Linked DNA regions of Homo sapiens: region 1 is linked to region 2. The links are contacts of gene promoters, found by promoter capture Hi-C in human tissues and cell types (Jung and others, 2019). All regions are on one chromosome and are shown on one strand. The core of a region is centred on a gene start or on the middle of the fragment in contact, and the rest is flanking DNA. Distances in the headings are between cores, read along the strand shown. Region 1 has its middle 10 kb from the start of ATP5MC2. Region 2 holds the start of HOXC5 (homeobox C5).

Region 1 (4,380 bases), core at 1,496-3,995, 350 kb after region 2:
AAACCCCATCTCTACTAAAAATACAAAAATTAGCCGGACGTTGTGGTATGCGCCTGTAATCCCAGCTACTAGGGAGGCTGAGGCAGGAAAATTGCTTGAACCCAGAGGTGGAGGTTGCAGTGAGCAAAGATGGTACCACTGCACTCCAGCCTGGGCAACAGAGCAAGACTTCGTCTCAAAACAACAACAACAACAACAACAACAACAAGAATAGAATATGGAATGACTGAGGAGGGAGAAGACATCCAGCTGCAAGCTGGACAAGAGTGACAGCATGTGGTAAGAATCTATACATGTTCAGGGACAGTGACTAAACCAACTTAATGAGAGTTTCAGTGTCTGTGTTTAAAAGACAGAATACAGGCTGGACACAGTGGCTCATTCCTGTAATCCCAACACTTTGGGAGGCCACGGCAGGCTGATCGTTTGAGCCCAGGAGTTCAAAACCAGCCTGGGCAACACGGGGAAACCTTGTCTCTATAAAAAAATTTAAAAATTAGCCAGGCATGATGGTGCAGCTATTTGGGAGGCTGAGGTGGGAGGATCACTTGAGCCCAGGTGGCAAAGGTTGCAGTGAGCTGAGATCGTGTCACTACACTCCAGCCAGCATGACAGAGTGAGACCCTGTCTTAACATAAATAAATAAGGGCCGGGCACAGTGGCTCACACCTGTAATTCCAGCACTTTGGGAGGCCGAGGCAGGTGGATCACCTGAGATCAGGAGTTCAAGACGAGCCTAACCAATATGGTGAAACCCCATGTCTACTAAAAATACAAACATTAGCCAGGCATGGTGGCGTGCATCTGTACTCCCAGCTACTTGGGAGACTAAGACAGGAGAATTGCTTGAACCCGGGAGACAGAGATTGCAGTGAGCCAAGATCGCGCCACTGCACTTCAGCCTGGGTAACAGAGCGAGACTCCAACTCAAAAATAAATAAATGAATAAATTAATTAATTTAATTAAATTAAAGGCAGAATACATATGTGTTTGCAACCATGTGTTTCTCTGATTGTGTTTCTAGTCACAAGGAATGGTGTTTGGATTTTCTTTTATTTTGGATTATTCACACCTTTTCTCCCTCTGTCTTAACATGAAAATCAAGAATCAAAACAGTAACCACCTGCTACCCTCAGCAAAACAAACAGATTGTAAAAGCAATTACACCATTACCACTTCTCATTTATCTGCATACAAAATAACTTCCTCTCCCTCTTTCTCCCACGTGGTTCCAGGCTGAGCTGGGATTATTACTGCCTAGATTATTACTGTCTTCTTTATAAATTCCTTTTTCTTAGACTCACTTCTGCCAGATAGCCTTACCAAAAAAAAATCATATTTTTTTCCCCCAGCCTGCATGGTTACTTTAAGGGAAGCATGGTAGTGAGTGGGAAGAAAAACAATGTGAACTAAGTAGCGATTATTAAATACCAGGTGCTTTGCACACATTTGCTTAATTCTCACAATAACGCTGTAAGGTAGTTATTATTATCCCCATTTTACAAGTAAGAAAATGGAGACTCAAAGAGCCTGCTCAGGTTCAAAGAAGAATAAAGAAATATTACAATAGGGATTTGAACTAGCTCTATATCATTTTGGAGTCCATGCCTTTAGACTTGGCCAGAGGGATTTTATCTTTGGTGCTTGTTTTTTTAAAGACGGCCTCATCCTCCTCCAGAAGGAGGATAACTTAAGGCCAAGTGGATATGTCTACCCAGAGCTCATTTCTCCCCACTCCTAGACATGCTCCAGTTACCAGAATCCCCTGTTGAGCAGCCCCTTCCAAGGCCACAGCCCACAGCCTCTTCCTGGGGGCTGATCTCTTGAGAGCACAGACTGAGCTACTGGGGGCACATTCCTAGTCCTGTTGGCCTGTAGTGCAGATGGAGTTTAGATGTATGGCCTTACTGAGCGCACACTTTTGTGTGAGGCCCCTTCGGCAGTGGGACAGAGCCATGAATGGAAAGAGAACATGAGGCAAACAGGGACTTGAAGGAATTCCAGAATTCTAAATATAAACCTTCCAGTTGATATTGATATATTTGTCAAGATAAGAGGGTAGGACATGTTTACTTAATGGTTTATTAGCTTTGATTTATAACTTTTACATATTTAGATATTTGGTATCGGGGCCTAAATTTTTCTCTTGCTGTGAGCCCCACAAATATTAGAGGTGGGCTCACTCATCTCACTACAGCACTCTGATTCTTCTTTCTGCCCTTCCCATTCTGTTCTTCATGGCTAGAAAGCCTCCAGACTTGCCCACCAGCAATTCCCCCTCTTCATTCTCACAGCTTGCCAAATTCACCTTTTCATCAGAAACTTTTCAGCTTATTACAAAAGGGGCTGCTGATTTCTCACCCTTGCCCTTCCATGGTTGCCGTGACTTCTGCTATTCTCCACCTAAAGAGGATGTAACTAACTTACATTGCATACTTGTAGTCATTTTTTTTTTCTTTTTGAGACAAGGTCTCACTCTGTCACCCAGGCTGGAGTGCAATGGCGCAATCTTGGCTCACTGCAACCTCCGCCTCCCGGGTTCAAGAGATTCTCCTGCCTCAGCCTCCTAAGTAGCTGGGATTACAGGCATGAGCCACCACTCCCAGCTCATTTTTGTACTTTTAGTAGAGACAGGATTTCATCATGTTGGCCAGGCTGGTCTCGAACTCCTGTCCTCAAGTGATCCACCCACCTCGGCCTTCCAAAGTGCTGGGATTACAGGCGTGAGCCACCGCACCCGGCCACCTGTAGTCATTTTACTGTCTGTCCTGCCACTCTTCTGTCCTGTATGTCTAGGAGTCTTCAGGCTGCTTATAGTACCCAACAGTGGCTCCCTTGAGCTACAACCCTGTTTTAGCCTCTATGGAGAGAGATTGTGGAAGATTCTTGCTCTCTGATGAGCTTTAATCAAATACACAAGGGCCTAGTGAGTCAGGTAAGTTTGGCAAAATAAGAACAGAACCAGGGGTATCTAGAGAGAAGTTTCCATTTCATTTAGTGGGAAGAAAGTAGAGGGAATAGAACCCAAAGAAAAGGTTAAACCAATGCTGGGTAATTGGGTACAGGACCAAGTTTAGAGGAAGGTTAGCCTTAGGGGTAGGCTCCTAGGTTGTAAAGCCTGGCGGGGGTGGTTCCTAGAATGTGGAGATGGATTAGGCTTGGGAGAGAGTCACAGAATGGCACCACTCGGTAACCCAGGCCAGAAAACTGAGCGCCATCTTCACCTCTCCCTTCTCCTTTATCTCATACACCAGTCAATCACTGAGGCCTGTAAGGTCTTCCTTCGAAAGCTCTCTGAGCTCCTCCTACTCCTCACCATCCCCACTATCACCCCCAAGCTCAAGGCACCCTGTTCTCCCACCTGGATTTCGACAACAGCCTCCTTTTTGCTCTCTGTGCTGCCAGGCCTGCCCTTTCTCATCAGTCCTCCACACTAGAGCTAGAATGATCTTTTTTAAATGCACACTTGAGCCTCTCACTCTCTTGCTTAAATGACTCCTTGTTGCTTTCTGGATGAAATCCAAATGCCTTAGCTCGATGTTCAAGATCCTTCAGGATCTAGCCACCACCAACTAGTCTCATCTCTCTGTATCCTGCCACACCACAACTGTTCATTCTGGCCACATTGAATTACTTGCCCTCTGTTGAAAAGATCACTTAATCCCTCACTTCCAAGCCTTTGTACATATTGCCCCTACTCCGTGGAACATCCTTTCAGTCCCTCCCTATACAGTTTTTTTAGGCATCTCAGAAATGTCACCCCCTTCTGGAGGCCTTCCTTGACTACCCCTTCTCAGCACTGTGATGCATGTCCGTCCTATGTATTTCCATAGCACCCACTGCTTACCCTTTTTATAATACTATTGTTCTGTGTTGAAATTATTTGCCTTTTATTTAATAATCCTGTGTATCCCCTGTTAGACTATAAAGTTGTTAAGGGCAAGGACTCTATCTTATGCACTGTTTAATCATTCACAAAATTTCTGTTGAGAGCCTAGTATGTGCCAGGTACTGTTCTAAATGCTGGGGATACAGTGATGAACAACGTCCCTGCCTTAGGGAAGCTTATCTTCTAATGGGGTAAAAGCGATAAAAAATAAAAATAGTTCAGTGGGGTGGCTTAAGCCTGTAATCCCAGCACTTTGGGAGGCCGAGGTGGGCAAATCATCTGAGGTCAGGAGTTCGAGACCATCCTGGCTAACGTGGTGAAACCCCATCCCTACTAAAAATACAAAATTAGCCGGGCATGGTGGTGCATGCTGTAATCCCAGCTTCTCAGCTGAGGCTCGAGAATCACTTGACCCCAGGAGGCGGAGGTTGCAGTGAGTTGAGATCGTGCCGTTACACTCCAGCCTGGGCAACGAGAGCAAAACTCCATC
Region 2 (4,861 bases), core at 1,150-3,649:
AAGTTTGTGGGTCTCCTTCTACATCTCACAGCCCATTTAGACAATTTTACCCAATACATGCCCCAAACAGACAGGAGCCACTGCATCTTTAGTCCTGTTCTCTCTTTATTTGATATGACAAAATATAGTTTCAGGAAGGACCCAGAGTCAATAAATAGTTGGACAACAGCAATGGGTCAGGAGGGCACAGAAATTCGTGGCAGGGACTATGGGACAGCAAAGGGCCTCTAGGACCACTTGCTGGGGTCCAGTGCCAGGAAACCCCACTAGTTGAGCTAGCTAGCAGGCTGGGGCTGCCGGCCTGAGAGGGCATGCAGCAGGCGCAGGCTGGGGAGGTTCCCGGGTTTTGGGGGGAAGAGGTTGTGGAGATAAGGTTTGGAAAGCATAGAGCAACTGTGGGGGCCCTAGGCCGATGCTCTCCTTTCATATGCAAATCATTCATAAGTGAAAATCTAGTTTAGTCGCTACAAGGAAGCACCCCGAGTCTAGGGCCAGACTCTCGCCAGCCTTTGGCTGTCTAACCCGTCCAGCCGGGAACAAAGGAGAGGGCGAGGTTAGAGGGTCCGGCGAGGGTCCTGTGGCGCGGGCCGGGCCCACCTTAACTCGGGAGGGCCGCGCTGAGGCTGGGAGCCGGAGATACGGCCCAGGCCAAGGTTCGTTCTGCGCCAGCCTGTACGCCGCAGCCCTCCGGGGAAGTCCTGCGGAGCTTGCCCTGGGCCCCGGGTACCGAGCTGAGCCGAGCTGAGGGGAGATGGGGCAGCGCCGACAGCCCCGCGGGAACCCTGGGTCGGTAGGGATGCGGAATGCCAAGGAAAAGCGCTTTTGTCTGTGGGGCCCGGGAGCCCAGTGCTCCAGCACCTGCCCCCGACCCGAAATATAGAGAGGAAAGGCGAAAAGGAAAGGCGCAGGGACAGGAACCGGCTAGGGGCGCGCTCTGCGGGCCTCCCCCGCTGCCTCTAAAGAGCCTCTTTGCTTTTCATTTTGGAATCTTTCTTCCACTTCATCCTGCGGTTCTGGAACCAGATCTTGATCTGTCTCTCATTGAGACACAAGTTGTTGGCGATCTCTATGCGCCTGCGGCGAGTGAGGTAGCGGTTAAAGTGGAATTCTTTCTCGAGTTCCAGAGTCTGGTAGCGCGTGTAACTGGTTCGGGACCGCTTGCCGTCCGTCTCTGGAACATAAACCCCACCCCAAGCCAGGAAGGGGTGAATAGCTTGCAGCGTTCCCCCGTCCCCACCCCAGCCCAGGCCCCCACCCGCGGCCGGAGGGAGAGGAGGCGAGAGCCGCAAGACAGGCCACGCGGGCCGCAGGCGGGCCAGCCCAGCCCAGCCCCGGGAGAGGCGCCTCCGCCCAGGCAGGAAACTTTCCACCGCAGCCTTCACTCTGCAGCCGGAGGGGCTGAGGGGGGGTTGGGGGGAAGAGGGAGACCCAGGCTCGGACCGAACAATAAGCACCCTCGAGATCCGAGCACCGGGGACCCCCCTCCCGCCCCTCCCGAGTCGCTGGAATCCTCCGGAGCCGCAAGCGCCGGCGGAGCCGGCTCCGCAGGGGAGGGAGGGAGGGAGCCGCGGGGGGATCCCCGCTCTGGAGCCCCGCGCTCCTCACCCTTCAGATCCCTCTATTTTTTTAACTCCCTCCCTCTCCCCCAAAAATTGAATATTGCCTTTTATACACGTTTTGTTCCTATGATCCAATTATGTCGTCGTAAATTTGGGCGCACACAGCCTCTAAGCCTTTTAGTGGACAGTTTTACGAGCCATTGATGCCTGGATCGTAAAATTTATGGCCGCAGGTTTTTTTTCTTTATTTGCCCCGCATGGCCTATAAAACCCAGGCGGACCCGAGAGCGCAAAATGAAGTCCTAAAGTTTACCGTGGCTCATGTGCAGTTTGGTCATCCACGGGTAAATCTGTGGCGGGGCCGGTGGCTGGCTCAGTCCGGCGGGCTGCCCTGTCTGCGCCTGCTCCTCTTTGATCTCCCCACTGCTCTTAGCTCGCTCCTCCAGCGCCGGGCGAGCCGCCTTCTGACTGTACATCCCGGGGTTCAGAGGAGCCGCTTCGTCTCTGCCCGGAGCGTGTCCCGGAGCGGCCGCGGCGCTGCAGGCGGGGCGGTCGGGGTGAGCCCGGGGGTTGGCAGCCATGTCTACCCCGTGGAGAGAGTTGGAAGGCGCAGGCGGTGGGAAAGTGATGCTTAAGTCCAATCCGCCGTAGCAGTACCTGGATGCCTGCACCTCTGAGGCCGATCCATAGTTCCCACAAGTTTGCATGTTATAGGCAGGGATATTGGGGCTCTGCTTATAGAATGAATTGGCTACGTAGGAGCTCATGGCGGGGAGGGCCCAAAAAAATTTCTGCACCCTTTTTGATTAAGGGTGATTTGTGACTCTTTGAAGTTGAGGGGTTTTTTGTTCTCCAAAGTGGACAATTTATAGGTGGAGATATCTCTTTCTTTATCCTATGCGCTCTTCCCAAATAAGGGAGCCTTAAATAGAGTCACGTGACTCGAGCGGCCACTCATAAATTTGGCTTGATGACCTCCGGGAGGTTAGTGATGGAAGCCGGCGAAAAGCATCTCGATATGTTGGCAAAGCCCAACCAAGGGGGAGAGGGAGTGAGAGAGAGAAAGAGGGAAGGGGGAGGGAAAAAAAAAAAAAGGTTCTTGGAATTGGGGGTAGCCGGGACAACAAGCCCACAGCGACACCTGGTGCCTATGTGGGGGAATTGCATCCTGGAGCGCCAGCTTGCTTTCCGGTGGCTGGATTTCCTACACTGTGAAGGAGAAGCTGGTTGTTGGGGCAACCCCTGAGCTAGCCTTTTAAATTCTATTTAAAATTGGGAAAAGACGAGGCCCCACTTATAACGCACAGAGTGCTTTTTGTAATGAAAGTCCCGTTCTCCCAACCTCCAGGGTCTTCCAATCTTCAAAAATGGCTGAGGAAAGGGGATTAAGTTAGGTAAGGTGGCCTATGCCCAGGCTGGAGAACCAATGGGGTTTAACTTAGGTTCCCTAAACCAAAGGTAGAAGTCCCTTGCCTCTCAGGCCCTAAGGCTCCACTACTGCTGAAGAGGTGCCTATCAGCAAGAGAAAGTAGAATTAGCTTCTGAAGAGGTAGACAGGACGCCCAGGAGGAGGGATCCTGAGTGGTCAGAACAAGATAGGGGGGTCATGAAGCTGAGGGTGTTGCAGGCTGTTTGGGATGGATCTGGAGGTGAGGAGCCAGGTGGAGTTGGCTAGACCTCACCATGCTAGGGTCCCCAGAGTGGCAACAAGGCAATTTTCAAGTGTGTGTGTGGACACGGACAGAGCCAGACAATGGTCTAGAGGACTGCTCTGTTTCCCTGTGTGCGATCCTTATGTGGTACCTATGCCAGAGGTTTTAGACAGAAAATAGATGTTAATTGAGGACATGGAGAAGCAAGATTGAAGCCTCCACAAATATTACGTGAGCATGGCAGAGGAAAAGGCCCGTTATGTGCCCTTTGGGGAAAAGGTCTCTGGGCTAGGCTTTCCAGGGACCTGAATCCATAAGGTTCACAAGAGAGCAATTTCTGAGCTACCAAGAGGAATGGGGCGGACCTGGGGGGTGGGCAGGGCAGGCGCCTGGGTAGCCTTCGCAGGGTATCTGCAGCCATTCGGCCCCATCCTCTTCCCCCGTAGCCCCAAGTCTCATACTTCCCTGCCTGCTTCTTCCCAGGAAATCTCCGCCCCGCCAGGAGAAGGCCCCCTCCTCACTGGTGGAGGCACTGGAGGCGAGGGTGGGGGCGCTGGAGGGAATCTGAAGGGCCCGGAAAACTCTGGCGGATTTTTTCCCTCCGGAGACCCTCCTCAACACCTCTCCCTGTAGGCCCACTCAGGTTTCTCTGGCCAGGCTTGGAGAGAGAAGGCCAGGGTTGATAAATGGTTAGGGTCCGGCTGCGCTCCTCACCCGCCTCTTCACCCGTTTGAGGAGAGAAAAGTAAGGAACCAGCCCGGCTGGAGCTGTAATGAAGAAGGAATTTTGTCCCGGCCACGTCAGGAGTACCAGAGCAGGCGAGAGCTCAGTTTCCAGGCTTTCTCTCTCGAGATGTCCTTGAATCGCTCAATCCCTGCCGACAGGGCTCCAGTCCCGCGGTCTTCTCTTTCCCTCCGCTCTCCGCCTCCGCTACGTTTCGCAACAGCCAGCTTGGCGCGGGCCTGGGGCTTGCTCTCACGGCGCCCCCCGCCTCCAACTCCCGGGAGTGGGTGGAGGAGACCCTGGTGCCTGGATAGTGCTTCTTTACTGGTCTTTCGGGGCGCCTCAGGGTTCGGACGCCGAGGACACCGGCTGCCACAGGCAGGAAGAAAGGCCTGCGTGGGGTTGGTGCCCAAACCGACTGATCCCAGCTCCCCCCGCAACAAAATCCTACGCGGCTTTTTCCCGCAGGGTGTGTGTGTTGCTCCGCGCAGGGAGCCCAGAGAGGCCTCCCAGCCCCTCAGTGCGATCGCGAGAACGAACAGAAGGCCGGGGCCGGGCGCCTGGGCTCCGGGGAAGGCGAGTGCAGAGGGCTGGGGGCTTGCAGGGGGCCGGCAGGCGCGGGAGCGCTTGGAGCCTGCTCCAGCTCTCACCCTGAGGCCGGCGGGCGAGCGAATTAACAGAATTCCCGGTATAAAGTTTTAAAAATAATATCAGTTTTATTAAATATTCGAGAACGGACCCAGAGGTTGGATTTATACAGGAGGGTAACACGAAGGGATTTATTTATTTATTTATTTTCTCCTACTGGCTAAACAAACGTCATTCACTTTTTTTCTCTCTTTTTGTAATTTTCCCTCTTTTTTTTCCTTTTTTGAAATTGGATAGGAACACTGACGGTGCTAAACATAAATATAAATACAGAGACCA

Evidence for each region. The method cuts DNA at HindIII sites, captures the fragments that hold promoters and counts their contacts. A contact is called where the count stands out against the background at its distance.
Region 1: a contact is called between a fragment that was not itself captured here and the fragment with the promoter of HOXC5 in region 2, in 1 of the 25 tissues and cell types used here (neural progenitor cells).

What each region holds. Positions count from the first base shown.
Region 1 is chr12:53,684,222-53,688,601 of GRCh38, reverse strand. No RefSeq gene overlaps it. Among named protein-coding and RNA genes, the nearest start is that of ATP5MC2, 10 kb to the right of the region's middle. The HindIII fragment of the contact is 7,655 bases long and covers 1-4,380 here.
Region 2 is chr12:54,030,588-54,035,448 of GRCh38, reverse strand. It overlaps HOXC5 (homeobox C5), which reads right to left and starts at 2,399. Exons shown (of 2, transcript NM_018953.4): 1 at 1,873-2,399; 2 at 88-1,171. The coding sequence starts at 2,326. The coding sequence ends at 957. MIR615 (microRNA 615) reads right to left here and starts at 1,499; the gene lies at 1,404-1,499. HOXC6 (homeobox C6) reads right to left here. Exons shown (of 2, transcript NM_004503.4): 2 at 4,626-4,861. It also overlaps a transcript of HOXC4 not described here. RefSeq lists a silencer at 1,301-1,360 and enhancers at 1,444-2,595, 2,590-2,884. The HindIII fragment of the contact is 19,535 bases long and covers 1-4,861 here.